3 separate regions of the Homo sapiens genome follow, and regions 1 and 2 are each linked to region 3. The links are contacts of gene promoters, found by promoter capture Hi-C in blood cells and fetal thymus (Javierre and others, 2016). All regions are on one chromosome and are shown on one strand. Each heading gives the region's core, a stretch centred on a gene start or on the middle of the fragment in contact. The rest is flanking DNA. Distances are from core to core; before and after follow the strand shown. Region 1 has its middle 23 kb from the start of ELAC2. Region 2 overlaps ELAC2 (elaC ribonuclease Z 2). Region 3 holds the start of SCO1 (synthesis of cytochrome C oxidase 1).

Region 1 (4,130 bases), core at 516-3,015, 2.3 Mb after region 3:
CCAGAAGCAGATACTGGAAACATTCTTCTTATACAGTCTGCAGAACCATGAGCCAAATAAACCTCTTTATTTTAAAATTACTCAGCCTCAGATATTCCTTTATAGCAACACCAATGTTCAAAAGATATCACCAGGAATTTGTCCCACTCTACCTCTGAGTCCCACGCTCCTCTTTGTCGGTCTAATTCTCAGATGGGCTCTACCCAGGAGGAAGCAGATGGATATTGGAAGCTCCAGGCAGATGGTCCATTATCTTAGTATCCCTGGCAGAAAGGGAAGGTCTTGTTCACAAATGTTCCAATGAAAGTCTTGGGGATGAGGTTCATTAACTTTCATTGGCTAGTTTGGATTGTATGCCCAACTCTGAACAATCCCAGAAGTAGGGGGACTTCTTATTTGCCAAGATGGTTTCCTTGCCCACCTATAGAATGAAGGGAAAGGGCCAGCCCATCCTAACCTTATAGACTGATGGCGAGAAAGAAATGGCCTCCTAAAGCAAAATAGGGATGATATTATCACCAGAAAAAATCATCTCTGGCCATCCAAAAATGACAGATGGTTCTTCATACACTCTTTTGAATCTGATAATTTTAGAAGTCTGCTGTCCTCTTTCTGTATTGGCCTTGGAAATATCTCTTGTCAAAGGACTGGGTCTACCCCTGCCTATCAGACTGTTTCTCCTCTTAATGCTGTTTTAAATTCTGTACTTACAACAAAGGAGTCACGCAGTCACACAGGCTTAATCAAACCTTGACAAAATTTGTCTTTATAGCTCATACTCATTCCAGGCCAGTAACTGGAAAGCCAGTTAACCAGAATATAGGATTGTGTTAGATCATGGTGGGCTGTACCAGATGCCCTTTTCAAGGCCCACACACCCGTTTCCTAGCTCCTAGGAATATCGTTCATAGCTGTGAGGGCTCACAGTCATGGTCATCGTTGAGAATTGTCCATGGCTACAGGGAACTGCTTTACCCTGAGATTACAAAAGCTCAGCCCTCTTACCTCAACTGCGGGCATCTCTGAAGAGTTACTCCAACTGCAGAGCTCCCTGTTGTACTGGCTGAGGCGTCAGCTGCAGCTACATTGTGGGTCAATTTTCCCCTCTGCCTATTCTTGCCTTTCCTCTTTCCTTACTGCTGTCTTTTCCACAGTGAACTTTCTATATGCAACTCATTCCAGAATCTGTTTCCAGGGAACCCAATAAGACATCTGGACTCCTCTCTTTATGGTCAGTCCACTTATTGCCCTACAAGAAATAAGTAAACTTCACCTTTTAAAGTCTCTAATTTGGGGAATAGGTTTTCTGTTGTCCTGGTCTAACCTCTGTCTTAGGTAGGCTCTGGGTGCCTGGGGTTTGGGGCATCTTCTTGGGACAATTTCACCGGAAACAACACACAGATGCAAGCATGCAACTGAATTGGCTGATTTCTTATTAGTTGGATGAATATTTTGCTGAATTTTCAAGTGATAAATGCAGAATAGACTTGGATGGAAGTGAAGTGATCACGCTTAGTGGGAGAGAGAAAAGCAGATTTGTTGTTCTGAGAGCTGTTGTCTCATGGGTGTCTCTGCTCATCACTCAAGGCTCAGTTCAATGTTACCTCTTATAAGAAGCTTTTCCTGCTCGTTAAAGGCACTTGTTGTCTGGCCTTTCTTTTTATGTTTTACATGTTTTTGTCAAGTCTTTGCACACAGACACAAATCATTACAAATACTGTATAATGTCTCCTCCAGAAAGGTGTTTTACAAACTTCTTTTAAGAAAACACATGGAACATAAGATTTATTATAGGAATTAGATCCTATACATCGTAGGAGGAGTTGGGGAATGAAGATCCAGAAAGAGGAGTTGAAGGATCGGAGAAATGTCATCCACCAGCCCTCCTGAAGCACCAGCATAGTGACGTTAAATTAAGCTTACCCTAAAGCTGTCTCCTTGCATATATTTTACATTCAGTCTCCAAGTTGCTCCCTACATAGTGAACTGGAACCTAAGCAGATGTGTAAACAGGTTGTCTCCTATTCTTGTACCAATCACCGAATTTTGGCCAATCACAGGCAGCCAACTGTTCAAACCCTGTTCAAACAAGGCAGAGGCTAAGCTGTAACTAATTTAGCTGCTTCTGTACCTCATTTCCATTTTCTGTACATCGCTTTCCTTTTTCTGTCCATAAATCCTCTCCGATCACACAGCAGCGCTGAGTCTCTGTGAACCTATTCTGGTTGGGGGAGGAAAGGGCTGCCCAATTTGCGAATCATGCTTTGCTCAATTAAACTCTGTCAATTTAATTTGTCTAAAGTTTTTTTTTTTTTAAATTTTAAACAGTGAACATGTCAGACTTTACAGGGCAGTCTTGGAGGCAGGCATGTCTAGCTGCCAGATTTTTAAATGTTTTTACCACAGTCCACAGTAAGAAACATCTTTTATATCAAGATCCGGAAGGAAGACACACAAACACATATATGAACAGTTGAGAACAAAACTTCCACAAAATAACACTAATTCCTACCTTGTCCAACTGAGGTATTATCATAAAATATGTTTTCTCTTTGTTACTGATTCTTGACACAGAACTCCTAAAACCCTTGGAATTTCCTGAGCTATAGGAGTGTCTTTTGTATGCTAACAAGATGACTCGTAGGGTGAAGTATAAGATAGCTTTAGAATAGGGGCTAGTTGTACAATTAAAGAGTTGGACTTTTCAGCTGCAATCCCCAACCTCCAAGAGAGCAGAGAAGGGCTAGAGATTGAGATCAATCACTAATGACCAGTGATTTAATCAGTTATGCCCACATAATGAAACCGCTCTATGAAACACAGAACTACAAGGTTTAGGGGAGTTCTCTGGTTGGTGAACCCATCTATGTACTGGGAGGGTGATGTACCCCAGCTCTACAGGGACAGAGGCTTCTGAGCCCTGGGTCCTTCCTGACCTGACCTTCTATCCTTCATCTGGCTCTTCATTGGTCTCCCTGATAATAAACTGGAATAGTAAGTGTAGCATTTTCCTGAGTTCTGTGACTCATTCTAGCAAATAATCATGATCCTGGTGGGCTGAGGGAGGTCACCAAATGCCAGTGGGACCTCAACTCCAGCCGCTGTCTAGATTCTTGACACTATTATGAGAAGGAATTCAAGGATGAGTTGGAAAATAGTGAAAGTATGGAGATTTATTGCAAAGCAAAAAGGACACACTCAAGAAATGAGCTTATGGGCATACCCAAAAAAGTCACATGGAAGGGACTTTGGCGTTGTTACCTTTATGGATTTCTTTAACACGAGCTGGAATATTCATGAAAGTTCCTGGAAAAAGATTTCTTGGAACCGTGGTGCCACCCAGTTTTACACCAAATATGGGTGTTCTAGGAACAGTCATGATGCTAGTGGATGTGTGTTGAGTATGTTAATGAACATATAATGAGGTCCTAGGAGAAACCTAGGTCAAAGTCAGTGCCATGTTAGGTCCAGCCTGCTTGGTCCACATCCTGTTTTTCAGGGTCTTATCAGTGCAAGTAGCCTGGAGACCCCATTTGTTGTTGGCATCTGAAGTAGGGGGTAGTCTTGTGGGGCTGAGCCTTTAAACTGTGGGGTCAGTGCTGACTCCAGGTAGTTAGTGTCGGAATCAAATTGAATGGTTGGACATCAAGTTGGGTTGGAGAATTTAAGAATTAGTTGTTGTTGGTGATGTAAAAGTGAGAAAACACTAATAGTTTCTATCCTATTCTATTTTTTTGTTCTATTATATTTGCATTTTTTACAACGCTATTTGTGACTAATTTTATAACTCTCTATTGGCCACACTATAAAAAACGCTCTGTAACATACTGGAAGCTTCTTAAGCACAGGAACATTGCAATTTGCCTTAGCATCTCCGCGCCTAACACAACATCCAAGACAGAGATGTCAGGTATTACAATTTCATCAAATACATGTGTGAATGAATGAATGAAGTTGTCTGACTTTTGGTATGATTCATACTGGTTCGGGATTCACTTTTATGAATTTACCCAGTGTATTAGTGCAATTCATACTGGTTCAGGATTCACTTTTATGAATTTATCCGGTGTATTAGTGCATTCTCACACTGCTATAAAGAAACACCTGAGACTGCGTAGTTTATAAAGAAA
Region 2 (3,094 bases), core at 595-3,094, 2.3 Mb after region 3:
CAGCAGGTGAATGCTGCCTCCGGCTCAGGCAGCACGGGCCACGGATGGCTCCAGCAGAGGGGACTCCTTCCCCTTGGGGTGAGGATGGTGCCACCTGCCAGCTAGCCACACACCTGCTATGGACATTCTCTGTGCTAGCCACTATTTGGGTGCTTGGCTCTGGAACTGTCTCATCAAGAAAAGCTGCTCGAAGTTTAGAAAGCAGCTCAGAACTCAAATGAGGACTGGGAAGAAATGCTTCTAAGAAAATAAGCATTACATGGGAACTATCTAATGGTTTCTGTCCTTCAGCCAATGCACTTCTCCCCTGCTTCTGCCATCTGGGACCATGTCAAGGGCAAGGCTGCTGGGGGATATTGGTAACTACCCCAGTGTCCACCTTGAGCTTCTGAAGGAGACGGCAGCAAGCAACAGCCCAGCGGGCCAGGCTGCCCTGGATGCTCACCTGATGTGGTGCAGGACCTCCTGGCACTGGTTGTGGTACTGCTGGAGCCAGGCTTTGAGCTGGTTGGGGGCAACCACCAGCAAAGGGTGAAGCGGCTTTCCCAAAGATGCCTGGAACAAAAAATGCAAGTGCCGACTCGACGACAGAACATCTCAATAAAAACTGGAGTGCCAAGAGGCATGGCGGATGATGTGTAAACCGCTGAAACTCAGAACGCCCATCAAGTGCCACACTTACCAAGGCGCGTTCTCTCTGCAGCAAGATACTTGGCAAGCCCTGGCAAGGAAACAGGAGACATGCGTCAGCCAGGCCCCAGGGCCATCCCCTCCGGGTTAGGGTCTGCAGCCCTCTCTCTTGCAGGAGTTGCCAGCCCGACGTCACCCACCAGCCTCTAACACAGCCGCAGTGGGGGTGGCACAGGCCGAGCCCCCTGCGCCATGGCCCTGAAATGTCACAGGCAGAAAGCGACACGACCCGTGCTGGGAAGAGGGCAACGGCCCAGGGCCCGGCACCCCAGGAGACCAAGGTGAGGGTCTCATAGCCACACCTCCTGCATCCGGTCAAAGCTTCCGCTGAGCAGGCCGTGTGAGATTCAAGACTCAAGGAAGGCTGGGTAAACTCAAACCTGTCCTGCTGCAGGAAAGGAACTGAACAGGAAGAGAAGACATTCTTGTGGCGCAGAAGGACTATGTTGAGTTTTGCAAAAAACCATTTCCTAGCCAGAGATGAGTAACAAAAGCTCTGGGCAAGTTTGGAAGCGGAGGAAAAGACGCAGCCAAAGGGCCAACTCAACGTGGCAGTGCCTCCTCCAGGCTCCAGCTTTGTGGTCCAGCCCAACACTCACCGTGTGGTGATCTGCGTGCAGGTGGGACACAAACACAGCAGCCAGGGTGCCCAGGACCCTGTCCACCTGGTCTCCGTAATGACGGCACAGCTGCCCAAATGTGCCCTCACCACAGTCCAGTAGCAGAGACGTGTCGGGGCTGCAGAAGAGAAGAGGAAGAGAGTCACTGCCACTAGGAAGACTGCTGATGGTTCAGAGGCTGATGTCTGCTTTGGACAGGACCAAGAAGCAACTGCAGAAATTTCTGTCTCTCCTGCTTTGCTTTGAGGAGCTAATATAAAAGCCAATTAATTTAACCATAAAGGTGATTTTACATGTGTCATCCTCTTTATAGCAAAGAAGTATCCATGGAACCCTGAAACCCTTTCAAGTAGACTTACACAAAGGCTGGGCATCAAAAAAAAAAAAAAAAAGTTTATAGGAGGCTTAAAGCATTTAGTCCTAACAATGAATCTGACCATGCAGATTGACTGTGGCCACAGCCTCTGTTGAAAATACCAGGACAGGCACTGGGCCATATGAGACTCTTTCTAGGTCCAGCTGCCATCGGACTTTTCCCCCTTTGCAAGTGGTCGGGGTTTCCTCAGCTCATGTCCTCAAAGACACCTGGTGCAGGGCGGGCTGCAGGTGCTTCATTCAGGGAGCCAGTTAACGCAGACTCCCAGGTGTCACTCGGGGTTTCTGACTTGGTTTTAGGCAGGGCTCTGGAAGTCTGGATTCTGACAAACTTCTTGGGCTATTCTGCTGTGCAGTCCATTTCAGAAGCTCTGCTCCAAGGCAGAGAGAGTGCTGACCCGCTCTGGCCTCCTTCATTCTCTGGGAGGAGCCACGAACACTGAGAGGGCTGCACCCATTTTGCAGAGAGAAGCCCCGGTGCTAAGACATTACCTTCTGGGGGAAAAAGGAGTCGGGAGGCGGAGGCAAGGTGGCAATAGCACCTTCCCATTAGCTTCAGCTGGTTCAAAAGCTGCTCGCAGGGTGTCAGGTCAAACTCAAAAAGCCCTTCTTCCCCCAGGATCTCAGCCCCCGGGAGAGGCCGGCTCACTCCAAGCTGCTTTATTGCATGTCCTCATCCACAGAGAAACACACCCCAGATTGTATATTTCTGATGTCAGGGCACATCTCGTCACTGCTGTATATATTTAATGCACTATTTGGTTGTTTATCATCCACCACTAGCATGTAAGATGGCAGAGCAAAATTTAAAACAAACCTGGTAATTCACAATCTTATTTTCTTCACATACTATCTGTAGAGATAACGTGTACATGTCACAACGCATTTGACTAATCTCTCTGCTGATGACCCCAGGCAAACCCAAGAGAATCAACTAAAAAACATGTCAAGGGGAATCCAATAAAGGTTCTGAACACAAATGTGCAAAACCCTAAAGCTTTTTAACATACTACCAACAAATGGCTGGGGGACAATACCATGTAGCAATCAAGACCCCAAGTCCCCGCTCAAACTTCAGATGCCCCACTTACCAGCTGTAGGAACCATAGCAAGTCACCTCTCTGAATATCAGGTCACTCATCAACAAAATGGGTAGTTATTCACCACTTCATAGGATTAATGTAAAAATTAAAGGAGCTAATTTCTTAGCTAGGTGTACTGCCCACAGTAAAATCAGCTGTTTATTAAAAGACATCATGGGATGAATTTTGGTGATTCCCAGGGTAAAGTTTGCTACTGAGGCTATAAAATGCAGTAAGGCCACGCTCCTCTCCTGGACACTCCAGTCGACATGACAAGTGACAGGGCTTGATACCGCATTTCAAATCGACTGGTGAGTACAGCAGGAC
Region 3 (4,537 bases), core at 1,937-4,436:
AGATCCTTTTGCTCTGAAAGACATCAAGTGGCAAAACTTGGAAGACTGAACTGTAATCCAGCCTGGGCAACAGGAGTGAAACTCTGTCTCAAAAAACAAACAAATAAACAATACCCTGAAGATTATCTGAACACTGAACAGCAGCAAAATTATCAGCGTCAATTTTCTAATTTTGATGGTTGTATTGTGGTTATGCTAGAAAAGGTCCTTGTTTGTAGGAAATACACCAAAAAGTGTTTGGAGCTAATGACGCAACATGTCAGCAAATAAATACTCTCAAATTATTTAGGAAGACTTTTCAGATTATTTAATAATACATTTTTTAAATAAAACAAACGTTAGAATTGCACTTGAAATTCCAAACTAAAGTCAAAAAAAGCTTCCATATTCTAGAATTTTCCCGCCACAACTTTCCTAGCTTTTGTTTCTTTGTGAAACTAAAGAAACTTACTGCTTATTAGACTATGAAAATCTTACCCAATACTACTTATTATGCCAAAGAGTCTCATATATATGTATGTCAGTACAAAACTTAACACTGCTAAGTTCCTAAAGCCTATGAATTCCCAGATTTAATCATTAACCTTTGTATATAATGTTATCAAAAGAGACTCCAAAGAATGGAAAGATTTAAGCAATACTTTAAAGATTTACCTAAAACCTCTAAACCAAATCTTAAAAGTCCTAGGATATTCACTAAAATGCAAAGTTCTTATAAATAATTTCTAAATATTTCAAGATGCTAATCCAGAGCAGTTCCTGGCATTTCCTGACCAGGCTCTTTTCACCTCCCCCTCATCCACAGAGGGCATGCAGTATCTACTCGCACTATGCTCCTTGCCTGATCTCTAGGAAGCCTTCTCAAATCTCAAGGCTGGGACTTGCTTTTGCTCTCACAACATGGTAAGCTTCCTTCTGGCCTGGCAGAATCGCATCTAGTAAAATACTTTACTTCTGTGTCTGTTTCCCTTCCGTGTGCACCTCAAAGGCTCGACTACATCTTACTCATCTTCGTACCCTCCAGATTTCATCTTGCCCAGTCAAATCTATCCACAGTATATCTTTTAACATTGTTATGCAGTGGTATCCTAGCTTGGATCCTGGAACAAATAAAAGACATTGATAGAAAAACAAGTGAAATCCAAATACAATCTGTAATTTAATAGTTGTGTGCCATTTAAAATTTCTTAGTCATGAAAAATGTGTCATGGTTATACAAGATGTTAATATTAGGGGAAGCTGGGTGAAAGGTATGTAGAACCTATGCTATCTTTGCAATTTTTTGGTAAATCTAAAGTTGTTTCAAAACAAAAAGCTAAAAAACAACAAAAAAGGTGCTAGTCCATAGCCAGGAAGACCTTTATACAGGGCTGAGCAGATGATAATCTACTTACTCTCTGCCTTTTCTTTCTTGACGTGCTTCATTCCAGCCAGTAAAGCTCCTCCAATAGCAAATGTGATTGCTAAAGACTTCCAGGAAACAGGCTACTGGGGCAGGGATTTCAAACATAAAAATTCTAGTAAGATGCAAACATTTAACCATACAAACTTATTAAAGTAGTTTTTAATATACATACACACAGGCCATGATGTTAAATGTGCAAAATGTTTCAGGGATGAGAAAATGCTCAAAGTTTCTGTGGATGCAGTTAGGTCTGGGATCTGAACTACAAAGGCATTCATCTCCAGGGGAAAGTTCCCTAAGTCAGTTCTCTTCATGTAAATAAAAAAAAAAAAAAAAAAAAAAAAAAGCTCAAGTACCACGATTGTTACTATGTGTGACCCTAGCTCCAGTAATGACTTTAAAACCAATTATGGCCGGGCGCGGTGGGTCACGCCTGTAATCCCAGCACTTTGGGAGGCGGAGGCGGGTGGATCACCTGAGGTCGGGAGTTTGAGACCAGCATGGCCAACATGGTGAAACCCCATCTCCACTGAAAATACAAAAATTAGCCGGGCGTGGTAGCGGACCCCTCTAAACCCAGCTACACGGGAGGCTGAGGCAGGAGAATCGCTTGAACCCGGGAGGCGGACGTTGCAGTGGGCCGAGATAGGGCCACTGCACTCCAGCCTGGGCAAAAGAGCAAAACTCCGTCTCAAAACAAAAACCAAAATCCAAAAACACACACACAAAAAACAATTATCTGCTTATGCTGATACTGAGATAAATAGACCAAACGAAATTTGGGAGGTTAACTTAACTCTGGCTTCCAGAAGTAACAATGCCAAAGTAGAAGAGGAATCTAAAAGTGGAGCTTCTTGCAAATTACACCCATTATTTCTTTGTACCCTTATTCAACTCCCCAAATGAAGATGATGTTGGCCAACTAGACTAGGCCTAACTCATTAACCTTCCCGTAGCTCCAAAAACCCACTTCTCTTACCACAGGGTAGTGGCTCTCAAGTTATTTCTGGGTCAGAATTAGAACTCGAGAGAACCCCAAGAAAAAGGCAGATCCACACATAACTAAGTTCCACTTTTTGTTTCAATTTCAACGTATACATGGAACTCTGGATGGGGCTCAAGTGACAAATTATAAAAGTCCTCTGACTTCTCAATCACGGTAAACTTTAGGTTCATACCCTTAAGAAAACCTGAAACTTAATTTTTTTTTTTTTTTTGATGGAAACGCTAACATAAAATCCAAGTCGGGGCATCCAGCCACGTGGAGAGGGTGTAAAGTCTCAAGTTCTCTGTGGAGAACTGGGACTACCCGCAAGGCACGGGAAATGTAGGATGAAATTCCATGACCCAGGTAAGGCGCGCAAGCTAAGGACAACTTTAGGGGAGGCGGAGTAGTGTCTGAGGTTACGACCAAGTGGGATGTGGCCGCTGGGCTGGCCGACAGCCGCGACGAGCACCAGAAGGGTTCCAGGTGTGCACTCACCCCGGGCTTCGAGGGGCGCGTGGAGTCTCCGGGGCCCTTCTGCGACCACGGGGGTGGCGGCCTCGCAGTGCTGAGGGGCCGGGTTCCCAGGCAATAGCCAGGGCGCCCCGAGGCACGCCACGCCTCCGCTTGCCGCGCGCAGAACTGCCTCAGCAAGACTCTCGCAGTCCCCTCGGCTGGGCCCCAAAACTCGAGTCCGCGAGGCAAGAAGCGCCAAAGTTGGCCACCCAGAGGCCGCATAACTCGTCCGGGTACTAGGACCAGCATCGCCATGAGCCTCGGAGACCGGGTCTCCTTTGACCCTCCCCGCGATTTCCGGTAGCGTTCCGCTTCCTCCGGAAGTCGGAAGGAGTCGCTCTGTCCGTCCCGCTCGTTGGTGGCGCTGTTACATAGCCCGTAGTCAGAGGCCTTTCAGCCCAGGGGCCGGCGCACGGTAGGTAGTTCCCTGCGGCTGGAGGCGGGTCTGGCGCGGGCTGGGCGGTGCTGCGGGGCCGCGGGACAGCGGAGCGCCGGGAAGGGGGCTGCCTTAGGGGTCCAGGTGCGCGGCTGGGCCGAGGCAAGGCGGCCCCAAGCGCTGGGGGCCCCCGCTTTGGTCGTGGGCTTCGGTGACCACAGCTAGCTCCTCGCGCCGGGGACACCCCCACCTCGGAAGAGAGAACACACTGCCTAGAGACCCACGGGACTGGGCAGCCCCCATAACCCTACCTTGTCTGGCCGACTTTGTCAACCTCGTCCTGCCGGCCAAGAGGAAGTGCCAGAATGTTGACTCCTTTACATCTTTGAAATAGAAACCGACCCATTGCGATTGAAATAGTCTTTAACTTAAAAAAAATTGCTAATTAGGATAATTTGAGTGGTTAGGGCGGTCTGGAAGAACTTTAAATGCCCAGCGCTTCTAGTTATTTAACATTATAATGTAACCTAATTAATAAAGCATAGCAGTGTGTAAAGAAATATAGACAGCATGATATCCCATCCGTTAACTTAGTCTTCCTGGGTCCCAGTTTCTTAAAATACTCTCACGGACTCCCTTGCTCCCTACAGTTTCGTTATTTGAAGTTTGTTATGGGTTCCTCATCTGGAACTGCTTATGTTCCTTGTTAATGAGGCCAAGAGCATTCGTAGGTTTTTCGTTCTTTGTGAAAGTCTAACTTCATTTCATCTGCCTTTATTTATATCTTAATATCCGCAATATTAACCACTCCCTCCCCGCCCCTACCTCGGTGGTTGCTTTACAAAATACAGAGAAATAAAAAAAGGAAAATCGTCCTCTAATTATCTTCCTTAACTACAGATCCCGCTCCTGTGTGGCTTTTTTTTCCCCCATGGGACCGACTCTGAGTAGGAGAAACTCGTGCTCTGATGATTGTTGGACCAGAGCATGGTTGGTTTGCTTGTTTTCTATGAGTTAGCCAAACTAGCCAACTGTTCTGTTCTCTAACCCAGTAACGGAACATAGTGTTACCTGTGTTTCTTGATTCGCGGTTGGACTAGAATTTTCAGAAATTTCTGCCAAAGTTCTTAAATGTTTGTTCAGCACTTCAAGTCGTTAATCAAACTATTTTTTTCTATCTTATAGTTGCCTGTGGGTAGGATTTTTGCTCTTTTATCTTTGTGTATTTGTTTGCCCAGGGATAATTTTTTCTTGT

Evidence for each region. The method cuts DNA at HindIII sites, captures the fragments that hold promoters and counts their contacts. A CHiCAGO score of 5 or more calls a contact.
Region 1: a contact is called between a fragment that was not itself captured here and the fragment with the promoter of SCO1 in region 3, in 1 of 17 cell types (neutrophils). The highest score is 8.1, in neutrophils.
Region 2: a fragment that was not itself captured here is called in contact with the fragment with the promoter of SCO1 in region 3 in 1 of 17 cell types (neutrophils); the score reaches 5.9 in neutrophils.

The regions. Positions count from the first base shown.
Region 1 is chr17:13,038,891-13,043,020 of GRCh38, forward strand. No RefSeq gene overlaps it. Among named protein-coding and RNA genes, the nearest start is that of ELAC2, 23 kb to the left of the region's middle. The HindIII fragment of the contact is 301 bases long and covers 1,616-1,916 here.
Region 2 is chr17:12,995,258-12,998,351 of GRCh38, forward strand. It overlaps ELAC2 (elaC ribonuclease Z 2), which reads right to left. Exons shown (of 24, transcript NM_018127.7): 17 at 1,290-1,428; 18 at 683-721; 19 at 446-555. Among named protein-coding and RNA genes, the nearest start is that of ELAC2, 21 kb to the right of the region's middle. The HindIII fragment of the contact is 1,671 bases long and covers 1,010-2,680 here.
Region 3 is chr17:10,694,347-10,698,883 of GRCh38, forward strand. SCO1 (synthesis of cytochrome C oxidase 1) reads right to left here and starts at 3,187. Exons shown (of 6, transcript NM_004589.4): 1 at 2,889-3,187; 2 at 1,395-1,485. The coding sequence starts at 3,161. It overlaps ADPRM (ADP-ribose/CDP-alcohol diphosphatase, manganese dependent), which reads left to right and starts at 3,248. Exons shown (of 4, transcript NM_020233.5): 1 at 3,248-3,321. RefSeq lists enhancers at 2,164-2,987, 2,988-3,812, 3,106-3,400, 3,116-3,165 and a silencer at 3,286-3,615. The HindIII fragment of the contact is 16,251 bases long and covers 907-4,537 here.